Linked DNA regions of Homo sapiens: regions 2, 3, 4, 5, 6 and 7 are each linked to region 1. Evidence: promoter capture Hi-C in 16 types of primary human blood cells and fetal thymus (Javierre and others, 2016). All regions are on one chromosome and are shown on one strand. The core of a region is centred on a gene start or on the middle of the fragment in contact, and the rest is flanking DNA. Distances in the headings are between cores, read along the strand shown.

Evidence for each region. The method cuts DNA at HindIII sites, captures the fragments that hold promoters and counts their contacts. A CHiCAGO score of 5 or more calls a contact.
Region 2: a fragment that was not itself captured here is called in contact with the fragment with the promoter of PRKACG in region 1 in 11 of 17 cell types (M1 macrophages, M2 macrophages, M0 macrophages and 8 more); the score reaches 13.3 in M1 macrophages.
Region 3: a contact is called between a fragment that was not itself captured here and the fragment with the promoter of PRKACG in region 1, in 2 of 17 cell types (monocytes and M2 macrophages). The highest score is 5.1, in monocytes.
Region 4: a fragment that was not itself captured here is called in contact with the fragment with the promoter of PRKACG in region 1 in 13 of 17 cell types (M0 macrophages, monocytes, M1 macrophages and 10 more); the score reaches 12.5 in M0 macrophages.
Region 5: a fragment that was not itself captured here is called in contact with the fragment with the promoter of PRKACG in region 1 in 13 of 17 cell types (M1 macrophages, megakaryocytes, neutrophils and 10 more); the score reaches 12.1 in M1 macrophages.
Region 6: a contact is called between a fragment that was not itself captured here and the fragment with the promoter of PRKACG in region 1, in 16 of 17 cell types (naive CD4 T cells, total B cells, erythroblasts and 13 more). The highest score is 20.4, in naive CD4 T cells.
Region 7: a fragment that was not itself captured here is called in contact with the fragment with the promoter of PRKACG in region 1 in 11 of 17 cell types (total B cells, monocytes, naive B cells and 8 more); the score reaches 10.3 in total B cells.

What each region holds. Positions count from the first base shown.
Region 1 is chr9:69,012,359-69,016,570 of GRCh38, forward strand. PRKACG (protein kinase cAMP-activated catalytic subunit gamma) reads right to left here and starts at 1,755. Exons shown (of 1, transcript NM_002732.4): 1 at 146-1,755. The coding sequence starts at 1,734. The coding sequence ends at 679. The HindIII fragment of the contact is 8,295 bases long and covers 1-4,212 here.
Region 2 is chr9:68,633,472-68,637,493 of GRCh38, forward strand. All of the region lies in intron 4 of TMEM252-DT (TMEM252 divergent transcript), which reads left to right. It overlaps LOC105376071 (a long non-coding RNA gene), which reads right to left and starts at 1,532. Exons shown (of 3, transcript XR_929902.3): 1 at 1,298-1,532; 2 at 990-1,211. The HindIII fragment of the contact is 2,502 bases long and covers 154-2,655 here.
Region 3 is chr9:68,522,528-68,526,806 of GRCh38, forward strand. All of the region lies in intron 10 of PGM5 (phosphoglucomutase 5), which reads left to right. Among named protein-coding and RNA genes, the nearest start is that of TMEM252, 16 kb to the right of the region's middle. The HindIII fragment of the contact is 9,592 bases long and covers 1-4,279 here.
Region 4 is chr9:68,612,183-68,616,528 of GRCh38, forward strand. The region is part of intron 2 of TMEM252-DT (TMEM252 divergent transcript); the gene reads left to right. It also overlaps the pseudogene LOC347097. Among named protein-coding and RNA genes, the nearest start is that of LINC01506, 68 kb to the left of the region's middle. The HindIII fragment of the contact is 2,145 bases long and covers 1,138-3,282 here.
Region 5 is chr9:68,653,481-68,657,348 of GRCh38, forward strand. No RefSeq gene overlaps it. Among named protein-coding and RNA genes, the nearest start is that of PIP5K1B, 50 kb to the right of the region's middle. The HindIII fragment of the contact is 4,143 bases long and covers 1-3,519 here.
Region 6 is chr9:68,563,233-68,566,985 of GRCh38, forward strand. All of the region lies in intron 2 of TMEM252-DT (TMEM252 divergent transcript), which reads left to right. Among named protein-coding and RNA genes, the nearest start is that of LINC01506, 19 kb to the left of the region's middle. The HindIII fragment of the contact is 4,987 bases long and covers 1-3,753 here.
Region 7 is chr9:68,546,601-68,550,776 of GRCh38, forward strand. All of the region lies in intron 2 of TMEM252-DT (TMEM252 divergent transcript), which reads left to right. It overlaps LINC01506 (long intergenic non-protein coding RNA 1506), which reads right to left and starts at 2. Exons shown (of 4, transcript NR_109769.1): 1 at 1-2. The HindIII fragment of the contact is 9,054 bases long and covers 1-4,176 here.

The DNA.
Region 1 (4,212 bases), core at 505-3,004:
GCAGTTCATGGGGGAAGTTCAAACCCCAGAGCCTCCTTCCAAAGTCAGTCGGCTTCCTGGATTTGTTAAAATGGAATGGGGAGACACGGTAAGGTGGGAAGGGTGGGAGGGGTGGAAGTAGAGGAAGGAGGAAAGGGGACACTGGTGGAACTTAAATAAGATTTTAATTGTTTTTTGTTTTAATTTTTTATTCTAGCAAACAGCCCACTGAACATGGCACTAAACCTCTCTCCTTCCCAGGCAGGATTACGCCAAAGGGTAGGTGTGCTTTTCATTCATCCTCTCTTAGTAAGTGGTGCCTGTTCAGGGCTGGAGTTAAGTTTGAGCCCCTCTTTCCACACCGTGTCCCTTGATACAACAGCAAGACCTGGCCTGAATAGAGCTGAGAAACTCGTTTAAAACAGGCAGAAGGGGGCTGGGGCAAGGGGGACCCTGTGGGAGGAGAAAGAGAGAAGCACAGAGGGACCAGGAAGGCATGGGGGGGGGTGAGGGAGCAGCTGGTGTTTCTGTTCCTCCAAATATCTGGGCTTCCTGCTCCCCCAACCCTGGAGGGTGGGGTGAGGATGAAATTAGATACAAGGAACTCTGGGGCCCTCTGGCTGTTCAATCCAACCCTCCCATCCCCCAAACCACCAAAAACAAAAAGGAAAGAAAACCCACAGGGGCACAAGCACACCCCTAAAACTCAGAAAACTCCTTGGCACACTTCTCATTGATGGAGATCCGGAGCTCTTCCTCCTCGTAGTCGTCAAAGTTACTGGCATCCCCAGGGCCTGTGTACTTCGGGATGAAGGGAGCTTCCACCTTCTTCTCATAGATGGCGATCCAGCTGGTTGTGGCGAACCACTTGTGGTTCTTGATGTCGCCAACCCCGTTCCTGAGGTTTCCGAAGCGCTTGGTGAGGTCCACCTGCAGCAGGCTCCGCAGCAGATGCTTGAGGTCAGAGCTGAGTTTGGAGGGAAACCGCACCCTCCCAGAGACGATCTTCTCGTAGATCTGGATGGGCTGGTCGGCGTAGAAGGGTGGGAAGCCCACGGCCATCTCATAGATGAGCACCCCTAGGGCCCACCAGTCCACGGCCTTGTTGTAGCCTTTGCTCAGGATGATCTCGGGGGCCAGGTACTCTGGGGTCCCGCACAAGGTCCAAGTGCGGCCCTTCACGCGCTTGGCGAAACCGAAGTCCGTCACCTGCAGGTAGCCCTGCTGGTCGATGAGGAGATTCTCGGGCTTCAGGTCGCGGTGGATGAGGTCGAGCGAGTGTAGGTACTGGACGGCCAGGACGACCTGGGCGGCATAGAAACAGGCATGGGGCTCGCTAAACCTTCCGACGCGCTGTAGGCGGGAGAACATCTCCCCACCCGGCACGTACTCCATCACCAGGTACAGGTAGGAGTTGTCCTTAAAGGAGAACTGGAGCTTGACGAGGAACGGAAAGTCGATCGCCTGCAGGATGCGCTTCTCGTTCAGTATGTGCTCGACCTGCTTCATCTTCACCACCTTCTGCTTGTTGAGGATCTTCATGGCGTAGTGGCCGCCGGTCTCCTGGTGCCTCACCAGCATCACCCGCCCGAAGGAGCCCATGCCCAGCGTCCTGAGCCGTTCGAACTGATCCGAGCTGGCGGTGTTTTGAGCGGGGTTTCCCCATCTGTAGAGGAAATCTCCTCTGGCTTTGGCTAGGAACTCGTTCACGCTCTCCTCCTGCTCGGTGTCCTTCTTGGCGGGGGCGTTGCCCATGGCGGTGGCGGCGGCAGGGGCGGGGGTCTCGCGGCGGCGGCGGCGGCGGCGGCAGCGGCGGAGATGGCGCCCCCTGGGGCTGGCTGCGCTGGCTGCGGCGCTGCGACCCCCGCCCGGCCTCCGCTTATATTCCCAGCTACATGGGAGGCTGAGATGGGAGGATTTCTTGAGCCTGGGAGGTCAAGGCTTCAGTGAGCCAAGATCACGCCGCTGCACTCAACAATATGGATAAATCCAAAAGGCATTATGCAAGTGAGAGAAGCCAACTCTAAAGGAGACTTACTGTATGAATCCATTTCTATGACATTCCAGAAAAGGCAAAACTATAGTGTGAGAGAACAGATCAGTGATTGCCAGGGCTTGGGGTTAGGGGACGGTTGGACTATGAAGGGACAGCCTGAGGGAATGTGGGAAGTGGTGGGACATGTTTGTATCCTGATTGTGCTGGTGGTTACAATGTATTGGGTGGTGGTCTACATTTGTTTTAAAACTCATAGAACTGGCCGGGCGCAGTGGCTAAAGCCTGTAATCCCAACACTTTGGGAGGCCGAGGCGGGCGGATCACAAGGTCAGGAGTTCGAAACCAGCCTGACCACCATAGTGAAACCCCGTCTCTACTAAAAATACAAAAAAATTAGCCAGGCGTGGTGGCGCATGCCTGTAATCCCAGCTACTCGGGAGGCTGAGGCAGGAGAATTGCTTGAACCTGGGAGGCAGAGGTTGCAGTGAGCAGAGATCGTGCCACTGCACACCAGCCTGGGCAATAAGAGTGAAACTCCATCTCAAAAACAAACAAACAAACAAACAAACACCTCAAAGAACTGTATACTTCCCCCCAAAATTCAGTTTTACTGCATGTAATGTTTTATTTTAACACATACATATGATTTCCTTTCTTCTGTTTGCTTTGGGTTTAATTGCTCTTATTTCCTAAGGTGGGAACTAAGGTCACTGATTTGAAATCTTTCTTCTATTACAATCACTTAGTGCTATAAATTTCCTCCTAAGTATTATTTTTTGCAGCATCCCACAAATTTTGGTATGTTGTATTTTCCTTTTCATCCAGCTCAAAATATTTTCTAAGCTCCCTTTTCATCTTCTTTGACAGATAAGCTATTTAAAAGTATATTATTTCGTTTCCAAATACTTGGGGATTTTTCAAGAATTTTCCTATTGATTTCTGATTTAATTCCATTGTTAGAAAACATACTCTGTGTGACCTAAAATGTTTTACACTTCTTGGGGCTCATTTTATGGCCCAGAATATGATCTATCTTGGTAGATGGCCCATATGCACTTGAGAAGAATGTATATTCTGGTGTATTCTGCTGTTTGAGGATACAGTGTTCTACAAATGTCACTTAGGTCAAGTTGGCTAGTAGTAGTGTTCAGGTCTTCTATATTCTTATTGACTTTCTGTTTACTTATTCTATCAATTATTAAAAACATGCCACAGGAGTTTATGAGAAGTCAAAGTACATAGATGATGGGCCTTCCATCACTCCCCCAGGCCACCATGTCAGCCGCCCCACACACCCTCCAGAAGACTGCCAGCACTCAGCCATCACAGGGTGGGTTCTGAGCTGCTCTCCCCAGTCAATTCTGTACAAAGATTCTGTCCTACATCATAAACACTGAGCTACAGGAATACCCATTTATCCTCCTATTTTCTCTCCATCTTGCCCTTTAAGTTTGACAGCTAATTCTGCCTACCCACCCTGGCTACACCGCCTGTAGCTAGTGCAAGTAAACAACACACTTTCACCTAGCCCTGCAGGCTGAAACCAAGCAAATTGGAGAGGAATCCCTGATTACTTGACTCCAAGTAGAAGGTTTCTATTGTGACTGTGAATTCTTGCCGCTCAGTTCAGCAGATGTTGGTCAAGCAGGTGTCTATTGTGTGCAAGGCCTGGTTCCGAGTTTACGGTTTAATCTGGGGCCAGTACTTGGGTACTGACTGTATATTCAGAGACGGTCAGGTTAGAGAGGAAGAAGAGGAAAGGAGAAAAATCTACTGTTGATCATCTGAACTTCCACAAAAGGGAAACCCACATTCCCTCAAGAACATAGCAGGGGGGTCAATTGCCCCTTGTGCTTTGGGTCAAGGCAAATCCCTGGCAGATGGAAATTCCACGTCTCCCCCATAATCTCAGTGATTTCCTCTTCATTTTCATCACAGTAGATCTGCTAAAATTCTGCCCATTTCTGACTTACCTCCAGATTATTCAGTAGAAATTTATACACAAAGAGCAATTAGTGGGAAGCCATTCTCTTGGACCGACGCCTTGGAAGTGGGACAGTTTGTTTAGAAGCAGGCTGTGCCATTCCATGACAAATTCTTGTGGCATTAATCTCTGAAGTTCAATTAGGAAGACACAGGGGTCTAGAGGGAACATATGCTGCACACTAGAAATGTCCCCATGCTTCGTTTACAGGTCAGAACATCAAGTATTTATCCCAGAACAAGCTGCAGAATAA
Region 2 (4,022 bases), core at 155-2,654, 380 kb before region 1:
TTATTAGCTTAGTTAACTTTAATTAACTGAAATTAAAATTAAAATAGCCAAATGTGGCCAGTGGCTACCATATGGGATGGCACAGCTATAGATGGCCATAGAAGTATGGTGAAGTGGTCAGGGAAGTCCTCATCAAGAAAGTACATTTTGAGAAGCTTTTGAAGTGGGGTACAGAGGGAAGAAAATGCAACTGGATTGAGAAAGATGGGAGGAAATGAACAAAACACAAGGTTTGTTCTAGTAGAAGGCCTGGGGTTACAGATTCAAATGCCTACAGAAAGAATCATAAGGTGGGCCAGTAGGCCGGGCACGGTGGCTCATGCCTGTAATCCCAGCACTTTGGGAGGCCAAGGCGGCCGGATCACTTGAGATCAGGAGTTCAAGACCAGCCTGGCCAAAAGGATGAAGCTCCATCTCTACTAAAAATACAAATACTAGCCAGGTGTGGTGGCGCCTATAATCCCAGTACTCAGGAGGCTGAGGTGGGAGGATCACTTGAACCTAGGAGCCAGAAGTTGCAGTGAGCCAAGATCATGGCTTTGCACTCCAGCCTGGGTGACAGAGAGGATTGGTGGGGGTTATGGGGACCATGGAGATTAGAGACCCTACCCCCATGTAAAGTGTCAATCACTAGTCAGCTCCAGCCAGTTATTGCCATACAGAAATGTAGGCTCAATGTTGACTATCTTCTTATTTTTTGGAGGAAGTCAGAAACTCCAATTTTATGTTAAGTCACCTAATTTTAAGTCTTGGCCACAGTGTGTGCTAAACATTCTTAGCAGATGCTGTTGGTGCTCCACTCATATCCACTCAGCACTCCCCTCTGCAGGTGAGGCTGCCTAGTGTGACTGCCTTCAACTCTGCCTGAAGACACTGTGCACACACTTGACCTGCATTCAGCACATGTAGGAATGCTAAAACATTAATGCCCTTGGAAGCAGCTCTCAAACAATGAGAGGAAAGTATATAAATATGATAGATAGTCTTACCTTTCAGTTAGGATAGCTCTGAGATATGTCCTGTATTGCCTCCCAGAGTTTCCTTGTGTGACTGAGCTCCAGCTGCCACAGTACAAACTGGTAGATAATGTGCCATTCATTGGAATCCATCCCTTTTCCTTCTCACTCTCCCACTTGCCTGTATACTGATGTTTCCTGGGATCACCTCCCAATAAACTACTTGGACACCAATCCATATCTCAGAACCTGATCCTGGGAGGAACCCAAACAAAGACACTGTTGCAGCATACAAACTCAAATTCCAGTGGCGAACACAATGATGTTTCAATCTCACTCACATCACAGTCCAATGAGGGTCATTGTGGAGACTGTTCCACCATCCAGGGAGCCAGGCTCCTTTCATCATGTGGCTCTGCATCTTCTATGACACCTTCCTTCTCTGCATTCAGTTGCAGATGGGGACAGATAGAGAACGTGGAGGGCTGGGAGGAGGATTTTTACCATCAAGGCCTGGAAACAGTGACCAGCACTTCTGTTCATATCCATTGGCAGAACTCGTCATATGGTTCCTCCTACTTGCTGGGGACGCAGGGAAACGTAGTGCAGCTGTGCACCAACTGTAGAAGGAAATAGGTTTGCTGAACACATAGCAGTTTCAGCTGCTGCAACTTATTTATTTATTGAGACAGAGTCTCACTGTGTCACCCAGGCTGGAGTGCAGTGGCGTGATCTCAGTTCACTGCAACCTCTGCCTCCGGGGTTCAAATGATTCTCCTGTCTCAGCCTCCTGAGTAGCTGGGATTACAGGCATGTGCCACCACACCCGGCTAATTTTTGTATTTTTTTTAGTAGAGATGGGGTTTTCACCATGTTGGCCAGGCTGGTCTTGAACTCCTGGCCTCAAGTGATCTGCCTGCCTTGGCCTACCAAAGTGCTGGGATTACAGGCACGAGCCACTGCGCCTGGCCTGCAACTTATTTAGATTTTGTAAAAATACTGTCCGGGCCAAAGAAGCTATGCCTGTGGACCAAAGTCAGCTTGTGGAACACCAGTTTGGAAACTGTGGCCCAGATATTATTCCCTAGAGTTAAGGGAGAAAAATTTTGCTAGCAAGCCACCCAACAAGTTCTTAACTTGCACAGAAATAAGTGTGCCACATTTTATTCAATGTCCAAACACTGTACTGAGTGCTCCACGCACAGTGCTGCAGTGAGCAGCCTCTGGAGATGTGTGTGAAACATGCAGATATTGCATGACTATATGAAATTAATCTATATGAAATTTGAAATGACTTTATGAAAATTGAATCAATTCTCCACTGACTGAGTTTATAATTTCACAGGGAAAATGATCATTTCATTTCTGATAGTTCTTACATGAACAGTGGGTCCCTAATCAGATAGCTGTGACTTCCTTCATCCTCTGTCAAGTGATTGTCTCTCAGTAGGTCATGTCAATGTAGCCCCACTTCCACCTCATCTTCAGCTCTTCAGCCTCTCCCCCGATTCCCTACGCTCCAGCCCCACTGCTTGTTTCTCAAACTTGCCAAACTTTTTACACCTCCAGAATTTTGCAAATGCTGTTCCTTATTCCAGAAATGCATTCCTGCTCTCCTCTCTTCTCTTTGCTTCATTCTTTACCCAACTGGGTCCCTGGTATCTGCCAAGTCTTGGCATAAATATTCTTCCCTCATAGAAGCTTTGACTGACCACCCAAAACAAAGGGGCTTTTCTCCACCTACCATTATTCCCGCTCCTTCTATCTATCATGATTCAGAACCATATCTGCATGTTTCACACACATCTCCAGAGGCTGCTCACTGCAGCACTGTGCGTGGAGCACTCAGTACAGTGTTTGGACATTGTCAGAGCTCAAAGATATCTGTTGAATACATAAATGAATACCAAAAAAACTCCACTGCTTTAAAGAAGTTTGTGTGGATACCTTTTATAATTAAAATAACATCTCCCCATCTGTCTTGAAAGTTTAGTTAAACTTGATTAGGATTTAATGAAGAGAAATATTTATATATTGAATGCTACCTGAGGCAAAGAAATAAAATAAAATTCCTCTCTTTATCTCAGAAATCCCTGAACTTAGTCTCTTCTAAAACTAACCTAGATAAAACTCAGTGTGATCATTTATGTCAACAGGGGTGGAGAGACGAAAGCTCTTTGAAAAAGTGAAACTGATATTAAAATGCAAAATTTTAATTCCTAAAAGCATCATTGACCTAAATAATCTAACAAGTTGCTCAGGGAGAAAAAAATAGGAATCAGCTTTGATTTTTCCCCACCCCTTCCAATCTCTCTGCCATCCTTATGAGCTGTACTTCCAAACACAGCTCAGCTTCACCTCTTGCCTCTTCCCCTTTTGCCCAAGATTGTGTCAATCCAAGCTGCTGAATGCGTAATGAAGCTGTCTGTCTAAGAAGCACAGTTACTTGTTTAGTTAGAAATGTAATTTTTGTTTTGGGGTTTTATTTGGGAGGGATTTTTTGCCAAGTGGTAGAATTTGAAAGTGTTTTCCCTATAGGAGGCAGATTCGGAAGTCTGGCCTACGACTCTTTTGGAAGCTGAAACTAATTAAAATATTCATTTTTCGCCTCTGTAGCTAAGACCCGGCAGGGGAGATAGCATTTGTTTTATGAAGGTGTAACTATATCCACTAACCTCTTGTGTGCCACATTCGGCATCTGCCCCAAGGCTGCCACACCTGCTCAAACACCTGCCCAGTATGTGAGTATTTGGTAGAACAGTTTTTAATGGCTTACCTAAGGGCACCTAGGGTCACCCACCTTTACCTGAGGACAATAGAGTCTTGTTCCACATATTTATTACCTATACACTCACCTCTGAGTGAAGTACTTTCCTGGTTTCACCTTCAGTGAGATCTGAAAAGCTATGCAAAAGACAAATAGAAAAAGAGAAAGAGAAAGAGAAGTTAAAAAATAGTTGTGTGTCATTAAAAAAAAAAAAAAAAATCACTGACCGGGCATGGTAGCTCACACCTGCAATGCCAGCACTTTGAGAGGCTGAGGCAGGCAGATCACAAGGTCAAGAG
Region 3 (4,279 bases), core at 1,680-4,179, 490 kb before region 1:
TGGTTTGCAAGATGTTACATTTCATATTTTGGGTTTGTTGGTGGTAGAATACTGGACCATGATGGTACCTCCAAACAATCTAAGAGAAACACATTTTGAGTGTTTATCTTATTAATTGTGATTTTATTTTAATTTGCTTAAAATTTTTGATTTTAATACGCAAAGAGACCAAAGTTAGCTCAAGAAAGTCAAGAGTAGGGTCTGTCACATGTCCAAATCTCAGAGACTAGACCTGGAGTATGGTTACCACCTCAGGCCTTCCTATTGGGAGGTAATGGATCTTTAGAGATAATTGGGAGTCATGCCATTGTTTTCTCTCTACCAACTCCTTTATTATTTCCTTCTGCTCTCTTTAATTCTTCTCCTGGTTTCACCCTGCTTTCTTATAATTTTTTGTCACCTTTCTCAGAGTCTCTGCTTTCTCATAATCCAGGATTACCATGGAGTCTTATGCCCTCATGGTTAATTAATTATAACCTCGTGATTTAGTTCCCACTACTAACTGTCCGTTCTTTCATTACTTACAGTTCAAATCCCCGAGGCAAATAATCTGCTAGGCTAGGTGAAGTTTTTGCCCCAGGCTCTATTGTAGGTTGCTAGCCAGCCTCTCTATTGGCTGCCTGTAGGTCAGACAGCCACTTCTGGTCCAATCAGCTGCAGCCAGGGAGTGGGATCATGTGATGCAAACAATGCAGCCTGGGTTTGGGCTGGAGCAAAGCATTTGACAGGCACAATAATTAGAGTACCTTAGAGCAGTGGTCCTCAGAGTGTGGCTCCTGGACCAACAGCATCCTGGGAAGCTGTTGGAAATGTCAGTTCTTGGGCCCCAACCCAGACCCCTTGAATCAGACACTCAGGATGAGGGGTGCTGCAGTCTCCACTTTAACAGACCCACCAGGGGATACTGGTGCATGTTCAAGTTCAAGAACCACTCCCTTAGACTATGCAAAAGCATATTGACTAAAAATGAATGTTTGCATGAAATCTGGAGAGAAAGCCTGGCATTCAGGTTTAGCAGGTTTTAAACAAAGTGGGAGTGTTGTTAGTTGATCCTAGGGATCAGGAGAAAGTAGCATTTGTTATAAATCTCTATTTTATGGATGCCAGAATGTCAGTGTTTTCTGTTGTTGGATGACCTACCTGCATTTCTGGTTTGTATTGCCTGCCCCGAAAGATGAACTATGGTAATTATCGTCATCCACACCTATTCACTCTCCACCCATGGCTCCAATCCTTCCCCGACTGTACAAATGCACATTCCTCATAGAGACCAGCCCAGCACTAGGTTCCCTCCACAGATTCTGACAAATCTTGCTTGATAAGTGATTATGATTCTGGTTAGGGTATTGTTTTCCTCCGAAAAATCAGTTAACTATTTACTTTGAGTCTTGTGACATTCAGATCATTTACATCCTTCCTGTCTATTGCTTGTCCCAGAGTAAGAAGTTCAGTTTGTTAGGGTTGTTTTTTTTTTAATGGATCTAATTTACATGAAAGTGGATTATAACAATGACATAAAGCAAAAGAGAAGATGGGAGAGAAAGTAAAAAGAGAAACTCTGTCTTTCCAGGGAGTATGGACAAGTTAAAACCTAATCTAGGATTTATGTGGGCTAGGATTAATGTGAGGTTAACTGGGTGCAAAATTTAAGTGGGTGTGGATGCCAAAATACTCAGTAATCAAGATAAATATCGTAGTGCAATTTTTAAAAAATCAAAATCAATGTCCAAAAAATTCATGATAAACATAGTGTCAAAACTTTAAATAGAGAGAGGATCCAATACCCCCTGTAGCCTGTCTACATTAATGGACAGCAAACATCCAGAAAACCCTGCAAGGTGGCAGAAGATGCCATCTTGAAAGGATGCAAGGCCTGCTTGGTTTGGAGCAAGATAAGCGTTCACTGCTTCCTACTGTTGACTGTAGAAGAAATATGTTAGGCACTCTAAAAAACACTGGAATTAGAAAAAACAATGCTATACTCTAACATAATTGATTAAAGTCTCCATTAATTTATTTCCTTTATTCACAAAGGGTTATTTTGGAGTTTCCAGGACATTCACATAACCCACATAACTGAGAACACCTCTTCTCCCACTGTCTGCCTGGTTTTGGTCAGGGAGGAAGACTGGTCAGTCCTACCCAACTCCTCATCTGATGTGGGACTCATCTGGTCCAATAGGGTTGCAATCCCATGATTTCCCTGCTCCTCCCCATTCAGTGCATTTTGTCTTTCTCTCTTTATCCTTGTCACTCTCAGATCTTATATGCAGAACTGTATGATGGAAAATGCAGTAGAGGAGCCCACTGTATGTTCTTATCCCAGCTCAGCCACCAAACAGATGTGTGACCGTGGGTCAATCCTGTGTCGCACTGGGCTTTAGTGTCTTCATCTGTGCCATGAAGAAATCAAATGACACCAATCCACATTCCTCTCTGCTTTTGAAATTCTGTGCTTCCAGCTCCATGTTAGAAAACTCACATCCACAGTTCATAACCCCTCTTTTTGCTCCTCATTCCAACTGCCTCTCCAATTGCCCCAGGAAAATTAACTCCCACCCACCATGAGGCATGGTCGATGACATGAGAGAAGAGTTTGGGGTTTACGTGTATCAGAGGAGTGATTTCTAAAGAAAAACATGAGTAAAAACCCGGCACTGTTGACCCTCCCACATGCACACAATGTCCTCCAGGAATGCCCACAGGAGTCTCTATTTGCCTTATCATCTTTTCATCAAATATATCATTCATTTACTCCACAAAGATGTATTGAGTATCTCCTAAGCAGTAGATACTTTCCTTAGCCCTGAATAAGACAAAGTTTCTGCCCTCATCATGTGGCCACTCATTCTAGCACATATATACTGTCATGCACGGCGTAGTGATATCTCTGTCAACAACAGACCACATATTCCATGGTGGCCCCATAGGATTGGAATGGAGCATGTATAGAAACCTGCTACATGGCACTTGATATTGATGTTGCGAATCAACTAGGGGAAATGATTGATATTTAGTGATGGTGCTGGGACATTTGGTTTCCCATATGAAAAACAATATATAAATAAAAAGATATATACCATCTAGGTTTGTGTAAGTACACTCTATAATGTTTGCACAAGGATGAAATTGCCTAACGATGCATTTCTCAGAATGTATCCCCATCATTAAGTGATACATGACTGTTTAATTTATACACTCAGGGAAGAAAAAATATATTAGTTTATTAGCCTTAAAAATGGGAGCTTGCCGGGCGTGGTGGCTCACGCCTATTATCCCAGCACTTTGGGAGGCCGAGGCGGGCAAATCACGAGGTCAGGAGATCAAGACCGTCCTGGCTAACACTGTGAAACCTCATCTCTACTAAAAATACAAAAAATTATCCGAGCATGGTGGCAGGCACCTGTAGTCCCAGCTACTCAGGAGGCTGAGACAGGAGAATGGCGTGAACCCGGGAGGCGGAGCTTGCAGTGAGCCAAGATCGCGCCACTGCACTCCAGCCTGGGCGACAGAGTGAGACTCCTTCTCAAAAAAAAAAAAGAAAGAAAGAAAAAAAAGGAGCTTAACTTGAAGTTTCCTTTCCAGAAAGCTGGCAAAAAATTCAATCTTGGGTATTTTTAGGGACTTCTTCCCAGGCCTTCCTGGGGTCATACAAAATCTAAAGAAGTTCTGTGGTTCCTGGAAAATGGCTGAAAAGACTGAACATCAGTGAGGTGGTCTTCTTCCCAAACACTCATATTTCCCGGAAGGCAGATGACTCCATGGCATCTGTGCCGGATTAGCCCAGGCTCTTGGCTCAGGATGGGAGTCCTCATATTTAGGAGTTTCCTCATGTGGCATTTTCTTCCCTTCAGCTTGCATAAGCACCACGGAAGCCCTCTTCTCTGACATGAACAGAAGAAGGGACAAGTGCTTGGTTGATGAATCCAGAAACAGAGTTAAGTAGGTCCACTATACACATAGATATCCTATTACATTTGTATCATAAAACATATAAATGTACATGCATTTGCCAGTATTTTGATTTTGGCCCAAGACCTGTTCTTTAATATGAGCATACTGTTTGCCATTGTGATCCTCTTTCTTCAAAAGATTCCCACTCATAATTCATCATCTATAATATCTGTCTTTGATTCCTTTATATTACAGCGGGAACTTAAGGACAATTGTGAAGCAACCTGAAAAAATAATTCTTCTATAATTTTAAAATTTCTCCCTAATATTTTGTAGTATCTCACCCACATCTAATTTGACAGGATTAGCTAATCACCATTATCTG
Region 4 (4,346 bases), core at 960-3,459, 400 kb before region 1:
GGTCCTATGGTGTTTCCAGAAGTATTTGGCATTGCAATTGAGCAGTCCAAGTAGTACTACTTTTAGAAGAAACAAAAAGTCTGTTTTTTAAAGTAATGTTTTTTCTTATGAGAAAAAGGTTTAGATAGAATTGGGTTTTATTCATATTAATTTAATGCTATTAGCAATTTCCATATACTATATTATGGAAAAGACTGAAGAACACAATTCTGAGAAATATTTTAAAAATTTTAATGGTATAGTCATGTTGAAAGATAAATGTTGGCTGGGTGCAGTGGCTCACGCCTGTAATCTCAGCACTTTGGGAGGCTGAGGCGGAGGGATCACGAGGTCAAGAGATGGAGACCATCCTGGCCAACATGGTGAAACTCTGTCTCTACTAAAAATACAAAAATTAGCTGGGCATGGTGACGCGTGCTTGTAATCCCAGCTACTCGGGAGGCTGAGGCAGAAGACTCGCTTGAACCAGGGAGGCAGAGGTTGCAGTGAGCCAAGATCGCACCACTGCACTCCAGCCTAGCAACAGAGTGAGACCCTGTCTCAAAAAAAAAAAAAGCTAAATGTTGTAAGTCCTGGTATGATGGTGTCAGCTTCCTTGGGGAAGTACTTCTTTAGTTATGTAGCTAACGAGATCTTTTACTACAGATCTGGATGGCTATTCAGATAACATAGCAAAAATGATAGCAGAAGATCATCAAAAACTTAAAATATATTTTATTAGAAAACATGTATCTATGAATGAGTATTTCCTTGATGCTAGTCTCTGCACACATATAATTTGTTACTTGTATGCATTCATTGGTTGTTCAGTATGTAAGACAATTACAAATAACTTAATACTGTATTTTCCTTGTATGGAAAACTGTTGTAGACCCAATGACTAAAACTTTCAAAATAAAATATTTTCTATTATGAAAAAAAAAGAATATCTAATGACAAGAGAAATTCTGTTAGATAAGTTGCTTTTGGCTATAAGTAACAGAAAAATTTAAACAGCATAAACAATATAGCTATTTATTTTACCATCTGTCAAGATGTCCAGTTTGGGAATGGTTGCAACATCGGTTAATTCAGAAGTTTAACAAAGGAATAGCAGTCCTGGTTCTGATCTTGTTCATCAGCTGATCTTGTTCATCAAGCTTGCTCCCCCATCCCCCATGTTTGCAAATTGGCTGCCATTGTTTCAGATACATTCAGACAATACCCAGACTTGAAAACGGAAGTTTCTTCCTACAAGTCATTTTTTTTTAAAGAGCAAAGAAACTTTTCCCAGACATTCCCTAAGGACTTCCCTGATGTCTCTTTGGCCAAAATAATGTCACATGCTTACTCCCAAGTCCATCACTGACAAGGTGAAAGGAATGATTAAGAATGACCTAGACCAATTAAGTTTCATTCCCTCAGGCTGGAGAAGGTTCCAGCTTTCCCTACAGCACATGGCTGTCCTATGTCTCAACAAAATCAGGGTTGGCTCACAAACCAGAATGGAGAGAATTGGCTGTTAACTAGACTACCGTCAGGTAACACAACAGTAAATGCAACATATTTCCATTTGTATAAAGAAAAGTGAATATAGATAGGTCTATAAAGAATAAAAGCCTATGCATATTTTAAAATATTATTCATGTTGTTGGGATTATAGAAAATATTTATTTTTCTTGTTTCTGCTTTTCTTTTTTTCCTAAATGTTCTGCAATGAATATGTAATATATTTGAAGTCTATTTGTGCCCTCCCCCCACCAAAAATATATCCAAGAAAGGTTACTTTAAAATAAAACATTTATAGTCCTTGCCAGGTCTTTTTTTTTTTTTCTTTTAAAGTAAGTATTAAGAGCAGTTATGTAAAATCAAACTCAGAGGTTTCATTCAGTTGAGGCTAGAATGTGTCTGATGCAGCCTCCAAAGACATGGAGCCTCCTGCACTCGCATGAGTCCCAGGACCCTGAGGCCCCACGGAGATGTCAGCAATTTTATCCCAGGGGCTACTCTTGCTGCTTAGAAGACGATGTCCTGTGACTTATCTTCCCAAACTGGAAGGTTGGACAGTACAAACCAGATTCTAAACCAGTTCTCAGTGTCAAGGCCAAGAAGATATCAGACCTGTCTAGGGAACAGGGTTACACTGAGACTTTCGGTTCCACCACAAGCAGGAAGACAGAGCTGGAGGAATGAAAACAGAAGGCACAGCAAAAAAGACAATTAAAGAGCAGCGAAGTCACTCTATGCCTCTAGACACATGTCCAATAACTTGGCATAAAAGCACATGCATTTTGTGACCAAGTTGGACTGGAATTCTGTCCTGGTGTACTCTGCATGTCACCTGTAGACACTTCTCAGCCTGTACCCGGGATTCAAAAAGTTGAGGGCGATCAAGAATGAGGAAAGATATTTCTGCAGCCAAAGCAGGGACAGTCCACATTCACTCAGCAAATCTCTGACCCTCTGCATGAAACCCCAGTGGCCACCTCCAGCCCAGTCCTGGCGACACAGAGCAGGCAGTGCCCTCAAGGAGATGAGAGACGCAACCCAAGTGGAAAAGACTCGAGCTTTAGAGCAACACAGACCTCAGCTCCAATCGGACGTCACCAATTGCTAGTTGTGCAAACTTCGGCAAGCCACTTCACCACCCTGTGCCTCAGTTTCTTCACGTGTAAAATGAGAATAAGGCTTTTTAAGTATTCATCGAGTTCGCTTATGCAAAGTGTGACGAACCTCAGCTCAGCATAATTGAGTGAAGAAGCTGGAAGGGCAGTAATGGCCTCCAAATGCACCTCCAACAGCCACCCAGGAAATCCCGCCCTTGCTTTCGCCTCAGACTCTGGGCACAAAAATTAATCAAGAGCTCTGAGGCCGGAAATCTGGAGCTGTCAGATTCACTCTTCTGGATTGAACTTTTAATGGAGGTGGATCACTGGGGCTTGCTCTTGCCAGATAAATAAATGGTACTTTAAAAATTATACCCAGCTAACAAAACCTGCTCACAGCCACACCACTGGTGCTGGGGAAGCGAGCTCTGACTCCGAAGAACAAATCACGCCTGAGGGGCCTGAGTGGAGAAAGTAAGGTTAAATCACTGGAACCACGTATCCATCTGCAACGGACTGTGTGGGTGGTGTGCATGAAAAGAACAGAGAAGAAGGTAGGAGAAGCTGCAGGAGGCAGAAACTGGAGGGGAGGCTCTGTCTTTGGAGTAGCTGCCACTTTGATATCTCTCTTTTTTTGGAAATGCTCTCTGCTGCTACTTGTTTGGGAGTTTAGCACAGCTAGAGAAATGGCTCATGAAGCTTGAGGTGAGGTGGAGATGAATTCCCTCTAATGAAAATCCCTGAGCCATCAAAGTGCTTCATTAGTTCCACACAAGACCTCTAAGGTGCGCAATGGACATACGGGGCTCTTCAGTGAAAAGATTATTCCCCGTGTGCTCATCTGGACACTAAATTCTGGTTTAATCACTATTAAAACTGTCCTGAGAGAAAAAATGGGGCATGTGAAAATGAGAACACTCAAGGTCATATTTATCCACATTGTTTAGAGTGAAAAGTGTAGCTCATACAAAGCTTGCCTGGCTACTGAAACCACTTCATTGAAAAAAAAAAGGCCAATAAATATGTCCAAGCCTTTGTACTTCCATTTTTGTAATCTAAAATGTTTTGGTTTGTTTTAGTATTTTATCTAAGAAAAAGAATGTGTTTGGGGCCAGGAGCAGTGCCTCATGCCTGCAATTCCAGCACTTTGGGAGGCCGAGGCGGGCAGATCGCCTGAGGTCAGGAGTTCTAGACCAGCCTGGCCAGCATGGTGAAACCCTGTCTCTACTAAAAATACAAAAATTAGCCAGGCATGGTGGCACATGCCTGTAATTCCAGCTACTTGGGAGGCTGAGGCAGGGGAATTGCTGGAACCTGGAAGGCGGAGGTTGCAGGGAGCCAAGATTGTGCCACTGCACTCCAGCCTGGGTGACAGAGCGATACTCTCCGTCTGAAAAAAAAAAAAAAAAAAGCAAATAAAAAGAATGTGTTTGTAAACTTTCAAGATATTTTACAAGTTTGTGTTTTGATGATAGTGAATTAGTGATATCTAATATCATCACTTGATAATAGTGATGGTGGTACAATAGCCAGAGAGTTCAAACCTTCTGCTTGCGAATTGGGAAACTGAGACCCAGAGAGATGAAAGGACTTACTCAGGACACAGAAATTGCCACTGGCTGACCTAGGTCTGGAGCCCAGGGCTTTGTGTAAATATATAAATATTTATGGATTTAGGTATGTACTTATTAATTTTTAAATAGTAACTAACCTTCATCTCACAGTGAGTACATGTCCATATTTTAAAGAGTCAAACAGCAC
Region 5 (3,868 bases), core at 198-2,697, 360 kb before region 1:
TAGGTCGCTGGAGAGACACAGCAGGATGAGATCACCGGGGTTTCCAATGGTCAAACTATCTGTTAGAGACCATAAATAAACTTTCAAAATGAGTAAGACTTAAAGGAAAAAATGAAAATATGTGAAAAGAACAACTATGAAAACTGAACAGGCTGAATTGGAAATTAACTAAAAGGACTTCTAAAAATTTAAATGTAATCTATAAAATTAAAAACCTGGGAAAATGGTAAGTACAAGTAAAATGCAACTGAAAAAAACATGAACCAACTGGAATATAGATCCTAGACACTACTTAGAATGTAGCACTGAGAAATAAAGAGATTAAAAATATTAAAATGAGGATAAAAAACAGTGTTTAAAGAATGAAAAGGTCTAACATACATTTAATAGGACTTTCAGAAGGACAGAATAGAGAGTAGGAAGATGCAGTATTCAAAGCAGGACACTTAGACACATCATAGTATAAGTGCAGAATACCAAAGGCAAAGATAAAGAAACCAGAGAAACTCTGTCACTGAAAATACTGAGAAACAATAACTACACTTTATCTCAATAAGTGCCACTTTTTTAAATGCAAAATATCACTTTGCACTGAAATAAGATATACAAGGCTAATTCCAGATCTGTTCAGAAAATATCTAAAATGAATCTGGGATATTTTGTCATATGAGCAGCAAGGAACTATCAAAGACGATGAAGTCATATCAAAATGACGTGGAAGCCATCCTGAAAAACTCCCGTTGGCCAAAGATGGGACAATTTGAACACAAATAAGAATAATAACTGACATGGGTTAAAATAGATCAAATGCGTAAAACCCATGACTTCATACTGATACTGCACAGAGCCTGTGTGATCACAGTGGAGGATGCCAGGGTACGATGATAGACATATAGAGCAACTATATTGTTTTGAGATCTGGTATAAAAAAAGAAAAATAATGCATAATTTATCCTAACATTACTGTATGAACTGCAACTCAGAGTAAACAAAAATATTTGCGAAATAACTTATACAAGTGTTTAGCTAATAGCTGAAGAAGGAATGATAGAATGTCATCATTTTACATGCCTTAGGAAATAATGGACCTAGACAATGGTCATCCATAGCTGCTAATGTGACAAAAAGAGAGACAATCAGACATTATATACTTCCTTATATCAACACACATCACCAGCTGTGGAGGAGTCTTGCAAAACACAAAACAAAATGAAATATAAACTGAAGGCTCTAGATTAACTATTGGCTTACAGGAAATAAAAAGGCAAGGGAAAAGAGTTAATATCACAGGGATACAACCAGCAAAATCCAGATTGTGGGGAATTTAAAAGAATGAATCAGATTCTTCAACAAAAAGTTTTAAGGAAAAAAATGTGGAAGAGGAATTTATAGATCGAAAGAAATTTAGAAGAACTATGAACTAATTGCAATGAATAGATTGTATTTGGTTCCTAATTCAAAGTGTTAAAAACATACAATACAATCAGATGTAAACACAAGATATTTAACAATATTAAGGTATTATTATTAACTGCAGATACGTCCTTTTTTTGGAGGGCAGCAATCTAGTCTGCAGACACTGTATCCCCTCTGGCACTTCCTGCTGCAGCCAATAAAGGCCGTTCCTACCATAGTTTATTTTATTTTTTTAAAATGTTATTTATTTATTTAAAGACAGAGTCTTGCTCTCTCTCCCAGGATGGAGTACAGTGGCGCAATCTTGGCTCACTGCAATCTCCATCTCCCAGATTCAAGCGATTCTCCTGCCTCAACCTCTTGAGTAGCTGGGACTCCTGGGTAATTTTTGTATTTTTAGTAGAGACAGGGTTTCACCATGTTGGCCAGGCTGGTCTCAAATTCCTGACCTCAGGTGATCCACCCACCCTAGCCTCCCAAAGTACTAAGATTACCGTTGTGAGCCACCATGCCCAGCCCCACAGTTTAAAAAAAAAAAAAATAGGTATATTGATGTATGCTGGTTATGTTGAAATGCACATGTGTACACACAAGGAATTCTTAAAATATCTCGAGCATAATTTGTTGTCTTGTTTAAGACATTAGAATGATTAAAAATAATGTAAAAATATTACATTAGGAATATCATGATAGGAAAATACCATTTAAAGAATATTAAAGTAATCATATACATAGGGCACAAGTTGTAAGACTTAAAGGGGGAAATTCAGACTTAGAAAAATAGTGATATTGCTTCTTTAAGTTATTCTAGGTTGATATGTTAACAGCCAGATATTTCAGTTGTTTTCTTCATCTTTCCTTAAATGCTCATGTCTTGTAAAGAACTTTATCCTTTTAGAATTGTAGGGGTTTTTATGGTCATCAGAAAGCACATCCTCATAATATGCTATTGTTAAGAAATAAAATTTTAAAAAATCTTTCAAACACAGATCTGTAATTAATTCAGGAGTCAAAGAAGAAATTATAATGGAAGTTATAATTATTTAAAATTAAATAATTAATAAAATTTAAAACTCATTGGAACAGTAATATAAGTAAAAGCAGCTGAAAGGAACATCAAGTAATCTAAAGAAAGAAAAAAAAGGGACTACATAATACAAAACAGCACAAATTAGTAAAATTAAAATCAGAAATTTGTTGGAGTGTAAGAGAGCCAAATAAATAACTTCCTTGTTGTCTCTTAAATTCTGAATCCACTGTAACATCAACAGAGTCGCAGATCTGAAGACCAAATTATCACTTTTATTAATGATAAATTATGTTAGAGGGTGTGACTAAGAGTAAGAGCCAAACAGATCTACTAATACTAATACCCTGCCCACCCTCTAGTTTGTAGAACTTGGAACTACATACCAGAGAGATGCAGACACACACACCCAGGATTGTTATCTTGCACTGGACTGGAGGGTGAAAAGAAATCTAATTCTCCATGCTTAGAATTTTTGATGGTTTACATCAACCCAACCAAGAAGTGAGGACCAATGGCTGTCACCTGACAACAGACACTCAAGTTAACCTTCATGCAGAGAGTAAGAAATGGGGAAAGAAATCTGGATTATTTAGGGAAATCAATTCACACATAAATCATAGGAGTGGAAAATAAGTTTTTCTTCCTGTTAAACACAATAGAGAAAGTCAACCAAATCAAATATTTTGTTTAGTAAAACGGATACATTTGGGGGAAAATTTTTAAGAATTAAAAAGACAGTACAAATAGATGAAACAGGGAAGATAAACTAAGATAAAGCAGATATCAAAATAATAAAATCATATGGACTTTATACAAATAAATTTGAGCATTTATACAAAGTGAACAATTTCCAAGGAAAATACAATTTTGCATAACGGAGTCAGGAAGAAATGGAAAACCAAAGGAATCTATAATCATTGAAGACACTGAATCTATAATTATATAAAACTCTATTCTACCACCCCAAAAAGGAAGAAGAAAGAGGAGAAAATGGAGGGGAAAGTGAAGAACTACCACCAGGTCGAAATTATTTTAATAGCGAGTTCTACCAAATATTGGAACAGGCAAATCCAAGCTTACATAAATGCTTCCAGATAATGCAGGCCACCCAAATTGTTCTCAAAGATGATTTTACTTTCTTCTCTGAGGAAGAACAATGCTGTTTCCTCTCAATTTCTTGAATTTGCTTTGGTAACTTTTACTTTCTTTTCATACAACATTCAAAGGGAGGAGAACGGGCTGGAAAAATATTATTCCTTATCTAATTGAAGAATGGTCAATATGAAATCAGAGATACACACACACAGCCTCCATTTTAAAGGGAGTGTCAATATTGATCTTTAAAAAATTAAAAGGGAAACACTACACATCTGCTAGAATGGCCAAATTCCAGAACACTGACAACACCAAATGCTGGTGAGG
Region 6 (3,753 bases), core at 1,191-3,690, 450 kb before region 1:
AGAATAAACTTTAAACAACCCAACATTCCAACCCAATTTTGGAAGGAGAAACTTGGTATGCGGTGTTGGTCATCAGAGACTGAAACGCAACTTCCCTGGGGTCTCAGGTGTGAGATATTTGGTGGACAAAGCATTACTAAGTCCCTGGTATACGAAGCAAATCAGCATTCTCCCTGATATTTAAGGTACAAAGGTACCAAAAGGGCATGGAAGAGAAAGTATACAAGCCTGCTAGGTCTGGATTGTTTATTTAGGGAACAATGGAAACAGTGGGATTGTTGAGGATTATGTAGTCTCCTGTCCGGCAGCAGCAGCATCAGCTGGGAATTTGTTTAAAAGGCAAATTCTCAGGTTCCACTGAATCTAGAGCCACTGAATCACAAACTGCGAGTTGGGCCAGGCACAGTGGGCTCATGCCTGTAATCCCAGCACGTTGGGAGGCCGAAGCGGGCACACCACCTGAGGTCGGGAGTTCAAGACCAGCCTGGCCAACATGGCAAAACCCCATCTCTACTAAAAATGCAAAAAATTAGCTGGGCATGGTGGCATGCACCTGTAGTCCCAGCTACTTGGGAGGCTGAGGCACAAGAATCGCTTGAACCCGGAAGGCAGAGGTTGCAGTGAGCCTAGATTGCACCACTGCACTCCAGCCTGGGCGAGAGACCAAGACTCCATCTAAAAAAAAAAAAAAAAAAAAAAAAAAAAAAAAAAACCCAAAAAAATGGTCTGGGAGTTGGTCCCAGCCATCTGTATGTTAGCAAGCCTTCCAGGGCATTCTGTAATGTTGTAGAACCACTAGTTTAGGGGAAAGACATAGCATCTGTCTAAAAGTAATTTTCATAAGGTGCCCGTAGACACAAGTAAATGTAGAATGATCATTAGCTCCTTTTTTCATCTTCCCTTTGCATCCTGAGGAACATAAACACAATAGCCTTCTAGGTCAAAGAAGGACAATTTTGCCCTACTGACTCCAAGTTCTCCTTTTTTTTTTGAAACAGAGTCTCACTCTGTCACCCAGGCTGGAGTGCAGTGGCGCAATCTTGGCTCACTGCAACTGCCGCCTCCTGGGTTCAAGCAATTCTCATGCCTCAGCCTCCTGAGTAGCTGGGATTACAGGCATGTGCCACCATGCCTGGCTAATGTTTTTTGTATTTTTAGTAGAGACGGGGTTTCACCATGTTGGCCAGGCTGGTCTTGAACTCTTGGCCTCCGGTAATCCACCTGCCTCGGCCTCCCAAAGTGCTGGGATTACAGGTGTGAGCCACTGTGACCGGCTGACTCCAAGTTCTTTAGGGCAACCAGGGCTTTTCTGGTGGCCAAGGCTTGACTCACAGAGAGCAAAGAATAAGAAACATTCTGATTCTTATTTTAGCAACTCAAGACATAGCAACCCAAGATGTGGAATCTGATGCAGATGGGTGCCCTCTGAAAAGATGAGTCATTCTATCATGGTCCATGACACATAACCTGGACAATTCAGAATGGGAAAGGGGTGCAGCTGGAACACAAGCGAGGAGAGAGAGAGGAGAGAGGGTAGTGGTAAGGGGGTCACTTGCTTCGGTGAGGCTATTTGTCAGGAAGCCAGGCTGGGTGCCTAATCAGTGTGGCCGTATTCTCTCTCTTCATGGCTCTGCAACCTGTTCATTGGATGAACCTGGCTTTGTTCCTTCCCACCTCTGGGTATTAATATATTAAGAAAACAAATTACAGCCCAATCCCACAAAGGCTAGGGAACCTGCCTTTCTTCTTCTTCATTGTGTCCCCAGAGCCTAGCAGATTGCCTGCTACGTAGTTGATAAATATTTGAAAAAAATCAGTGAGGCTGGAGGTAGAGTTTGTTCTCAAGGTGAGAGGTAGGGCAGGATTTCCTCCCTTAAGTAACCAGGCAGGAAAAGAACAGAGTGTCACTTGTTATAGGGTACCATGGTCAAACCAAGGAAATCAGGATTAATTTGAAAGTCCAAAAGGAAGTAGCACAGATGAAAACTGGATATAGTCAGAGGTCAGGACTTGGGCAGACCTGAACTTAAATGGGATCAAAGAAAGGAAATGAGGTAAGGATAGCCCTGCTGTCCACAAATTGCCCCATGCATAAGTAGATTAGGTTGGTGTAAAGCTATGTTAACTAATATTCAACAAATATTTATTCAGTCCCTATTATGTGACAGGTACTACTCTAAGAGGCACTCGCAATTCTGCAGTAAACGAAACAAACAAAAATCTCTACAGCCACGAAGTAGAGAGCACTGACCCCAAAAGGAATAATAATAATAGCCATTTGATGATTTAATAATCGTAATAAATAATTGCTTACCAGGTGCCAGGCATTGTCATCGTTATCATACATAGACCACCCAATCAGTTGATGTGGAAGTAAGTTCTATGCTTATGCTAACTTTCACTTTTCCAAAGGACTTTCTTCTTCAGACCATCACCTCTGGGTGCAGAAACGACAGGAGGAAGTAAAGTCTGAACTTACGACCTGGGATATTACATTTCAGTTTGGTTCTGGCCAGGCACCATGGCTCACACCTGTAATCCCAGCACTTTGGGAGGCTGAGGCAGGCAGATGACAAGGTCAGGAGTTCGAGACCAGGAGTTCTGGCCAATATGGTAAAACCCCATCTCTACTAAAAATACAATAATTAGCCGGGCGTGGTAGCAGGCACCTGTAGTCCCAGCTACTTGAGAGGCCGAGACAGGCGAATCGCTTGAACCCGGGGGGCGGAGCTTGCAGTGAGCCGAGATCACGCCACTGCACTCTAGCCTGGGCAACAGAGCGAGACTCCGTCTCAAAAAAAAAAAAAAATTGGTTCTAACAAGTAGGCAAGTCGCCTCATGACTTATATTACTGGTTACTGAAAGATTGAGTAACAAGATTGCAGTTAATGAAATAATATGAGGCTTTTGATGGGTGTTTATATGAATAGTAGGTAAAGAAAATGGTTTTAAGAGAATGAGCATCAAAAGTCTTTCTCTAAAATCCTTTGTGGCATGTTGTCAGAGGAACATTAATAATGAACTATTCTAGACATCCTCTCGACAATGCTTTCACAAAAACATAATATCACTCAACTGACATGGGTTTAGTTAAAAATTCCAGCCAGATGATGATTATTAAAAAAGAAAATCCTTACCAGTTAGACATGCATGTAGACCCTTGAGTGTGTTTTTAAAAAGATAGATACATGGAAACATTAGATATATAAAGATGTATATTCCAGCCAGAAGTGCCTGTAAGACAACAGTACTCCTAAACATAAAGTAAGTTATTTAGAAATTTTCAGATTTGACAAGGGGTTTTATTGTTTGCCTCATATACTTTATACACATAGAACTTGCTGTGTTAAAAAGCCCTAATTCACTAACTTCATTTGTGTATTATTCAATGCCTTTCCATGTATTAATATTTCTGGGGCTGTCCCTGGTGAATGATTGTGTATGGAAGAGAATAAATTATTTGGTTAAGACCCCAGCCTCGGGAGGCAAGTTGCCAATGCTTAATTACTGGCTCCGTCACTTACTGGCTGTCTGATATTGAGCAGGTTATTTAACTTCTCCATGCCTCATTTTCCCCATCTGTAAAAGGGGGTACTAATAATGTGTCATAGGGTGGTTAACAGGTTTGAATATGCTTATAAAATGCCTGGAAAAGTCTCTGGTACATCGTAAGTGCTGTGTGAGGTGCTGATGTTTTTCTGCTTCTGCAGGTGTGCCCTTGCTGTCCTTTGCCTCCTCAGCTGGGCTAACACT
Region 7 (4,176 bases), core at 828-3,327, 470 kb before region 1:
TCCGGTGCAATACACAAATGCCTTAGAACTTCTCACAGCCCTATGCACTCTAGTTTCTGTTTACCAGGCACATGGGCCAATACCCTTGTTTCGAAAACAGGAAGAGCATTGCTGTGAATGAGAAGTCAGTGGGGACTTTGGAAGGAAACTAATGGTGTGTAGAAGCTGTTGCATAGGAGGGACATGGGGCCAAGAGCTGAGGCAGACTGGCCAGATTTCAGAAGGTCACTTTGGTTTAGGAAGTGAGGCTTTGTGGGAGGCAGGGAAGGGGCGCATAGGCGTAGCAAGAGATGTCAGCCCTGCCTGATTTCACGGTGGTGATTACTGAGTGATTTCTGGATTAGCCTTTCACACTTGAGGGTTCACTGAGCACTGGCCACTTCCTCCTCTTTTCCATTCTTGTTTTCTTTGCTTTTGAAACTGTCCACCCTCCCTCCTCTTCCCCCACTCAGGAGAAGATTTATATGAAGGCTTTTTTTTGGTTGGCAAAGAACAGCTTCTCACAAAGTGCATGGCACAGTAAGGTAAGCTGATGTGAGAGCAGCACGTGAGGCCCCACTCACCCTGGGTGGAACCTAGTGGGTCTCTGGGCCAGGGGACTCTGTGGAGACCAGGACTAGGTGGAACTATGGGGCAGTTGCCTAAAGTGCAAAATTTGTTGGGGGTTATAGGGGGTGGGGAGGGTGGAACTTAGTAATCAAGAAAAATCATATTTTCCAGCAATGTTTTAAAAAATCTAATTGGCAGAATATGGCTCATGGGGCAGCAGCCTGTTTCTGTAAATAAAGTTGTGGTGAGGAAATTTGGTCCTGTCTATTGGCCAAACAGAAAGATAAATTTTGTTCTAGAGGGAGGTCAATTTAATCCACAAATAAGCCAGAACAAATTTAATTTCTTTGGGGATCCTTGGAAAACTGAAAAGACCACACTTCCATGGCCACTTTGGATCAGAGCAGAAGCCTCAAGCCAGGGCAGAATCTGACTGCCTGCATTGACACCACCTGGCATGATGGGCAGGGACTTGTAAATAGGAAGCAGTTTCTGTGCCCACTTTATGAAATTCTCTGTAATATTCTGTTTCCCTTTTCTCCACTTCCTAGTTTTAATACTCTTGAATAACTTAAGTGATAGCAAAATATGTGTTGCTCAAAGATTTAGTAGAACTCCCTCATAAAACCACTGGGTCCAAGACCTTTTTTTCTCTTACTTTTTTTTCCTTGTAATTTTTTATTGACTGCTAGGTACTGTGTGTAGGATAGTAGAGACTGAGATAAACAGTAGATATGCCATGCCTGAACATGGGCACAACTCTGCCATTGCTCACCTCTCGGTGTAGGGAGTTGAGCAAATCTAGTCAAGATTTGGGCTGAGTTTGGGTTTTGTTGTTATTATGGTTCCCTTCAGTGCACTACTGGCTTCAAATTCCTCTGGTATTAACTGGTGCTTGGGGTGAGGGATGGCTTGCTGAAGGGTTTTTTTCAATGTTCCTCCTCTATCCTCAATTTTAGACCTTCACTGAGTACTCGCACCTGAGTGGGGTGGGTCTTCATACTCTTGCCTATTTTTTCAGCAGCAGACTATGCTTATTACCTGATGCTTGCTAGCTGGGTGGTAGGGGGAGGGGGTTTCTCTGTTGTCTTGATCCACCTTAGTCTTATGCAGGCCTTAAGATCCTGGTGTTGGAGACTGGGGCTTTCTCAGTGAACCTACTCTTTCTCCAGCATTAGTTTCCTCTAACAATCTGACCTCAGGATAGTTCCCTGATCCTCCCTTACAGAGGGCTTTTTCTTTTCACTTTTTCCAGCCACATGGGTTTCGCCTGTGCCCTGGGGGAAGGAGGGTTTGCCACCTCCCGACTCTAGCAGCTCAACAGAGTCCAGCTGGGGCTTGACAATTTCCTGCAGCAGCTGGGTGGAGATCCACTGGAGAAGAGCCCAGAAGTGGGTGCAAACCCCCATCGTGTCTACAGCTCCTAGTGTTTCTGTACTCCCACATTAGCCCACATTTGGCATCTAACAATTAGTTAAAAACTTCAGCTGAATTATTCTTACGATCTTGTATGACATTTGTGTCTCTTATACCTGGGCCCTGTCATAGGAGAGCCAGGGCTTGTGTCCCGGCTTCCATTGGAGGCTCCTGTCTTTCCTTAGATTGAAGCTATTCACTTGCCCTGTAACCTCAGCTCCCTGATGGAGTCAAGAAATATTATGATTTTGTAGGTTGTCAGGCATTTTCTGGTTGTTAGATGAGAGCAATACTCTTTCAGGCTTTCTAACTCCTGGGCAGAAGGGGGGATATCCTTGGCATCATTTCTTTATGGTAAACTTCAATTAGTTTTTCAAATTCTCCTAAAGGTTTTAAGGTTATCTCTTCTCCTGAAGTCATTTTTTATAATTTACAATTTCCTAAAAAACATTCCACTTACATGCCTACAAATTCTCTTCACACACACACACACACATAACGTTCACTTATAATATAATATATGGTTATAATATTATATGCAGTATTCAATTATAATTTTAAAGTCTTATCTGATTTTCTAGGTATGTCACCTTTCCAATTCTTAACATTGCTATTTGTGTCTTTATTCCTTTTTGTTTTTTTGATGAGACTAACCATAGCTATTTCATTAGATTTTTCAAAACTACTTGTTCATGTATTGATCTAAGAGTCAGCATTTGGTTTTATAATCATTCAGGCTTTTTTTAAAGAAAGATTTTATTTTGTTTATAAATTTATATTTCATAAGTTTCTGAAGTTATCATCAATAATTCCTCTAGTCTACTTTGAATTTTTTGTCATTTTGGGATAGTGTCTTCAGTAAATCAGGCCTTTTTAAACGATTCTATTAGTTTTATGATTCACCAGTTTTTGCTTTAATCTTTAACAATTTCTTTAGTCTACTTTTAATGACTGTTTTGTCATCCTTTTTGCAGTATGCTTAATTTATCTCCAATCTTGTTTTCAAATAAATATAATTAGTGCCACCCATTTGTGTCACTTTGACCCAAATCACACACATTTTTATATGCCATGCTCTCATTGTCAGTCATTTCCAAATAATAAGTAATTTCACATAATATAAAAATGAGCAAAATATATAAGCATATAAGTGTTTTTAAAAGAAATAGGAAATAGCCCTTAAACAATTAAAATATGTTCAACCCCACTTATAATAAGGAAAGTACTAAAATACAATTTCTTGCCTATCAGATCAGCAAAAATCTCAGTTTGACAACACACTCTGTTGGCAAGGCTGCAGGGCAAAGATACTCATATATTGCAGGTGGGAATACAACAGCTAGCAAACTTACATTTGCATTTTTCTTTCTGACCCAGAAATCACACTTCTGGAAATATATTCCAAAGATACATTGGCAAAAATACAAAATTTTAAATGTGCAGATTTACTTATTGCAGCAGCATTGTTTGTAATTATATAAGACTGGAAACACTCAAATGGCCATGAATAAGGGCCCAGTTGAATAAACTAAGGTACATTCACGTGTCAGAATGCTATTCAGTTATAAAAAGGAATGAGTAACATCTCTATATTACTAGGGTATACTGATAAGATAACAAATCAAATAACAAAGTTTATAGTATAAAAAAGAGGGGATACAAATATGTATGAATATATGTCAATATTTTCAAAAAGAAACAATGAGATTATCAAAGAAAATTAATTTTTATAATGGTTACCTTTAGGAGGGAGGGAACAGGGTAGGAAGGATACAGTTGGAAGACAGATTTATCTGAATGTGTCTTTAAAATAGTTACAAAATTGGAACTATAAGCATATTTTACATAATTAAAAACCAAATTAAATCAAAGCAAAGTAATCCTTAAAATTTTTCTTTAAAAAAGGTAACAAATGAACCTAACTTCTTATCAGTTTGATTGCTTGCCATAAAAAAAGTATTCTAAGTAAATTTAAATTGCGGTATTTTCACTCAGTGGGAAAGACTCTAGTGTAAAACAATACAAAAACAAAATCTACAAATAAATCCTAATATGCATTCAGTAGTCTTATGGATGGTAAGAATATGGGGTATTGTAATCCTAGCATTGTGGGAGGCCAAAGCAGGCAGATCACTTGAGTCCAAGAGATCGAGACCAGCCTGGGCAACATGGCAAAACCCCATCTCTACAAAAAAATACAAAAATCAGCCA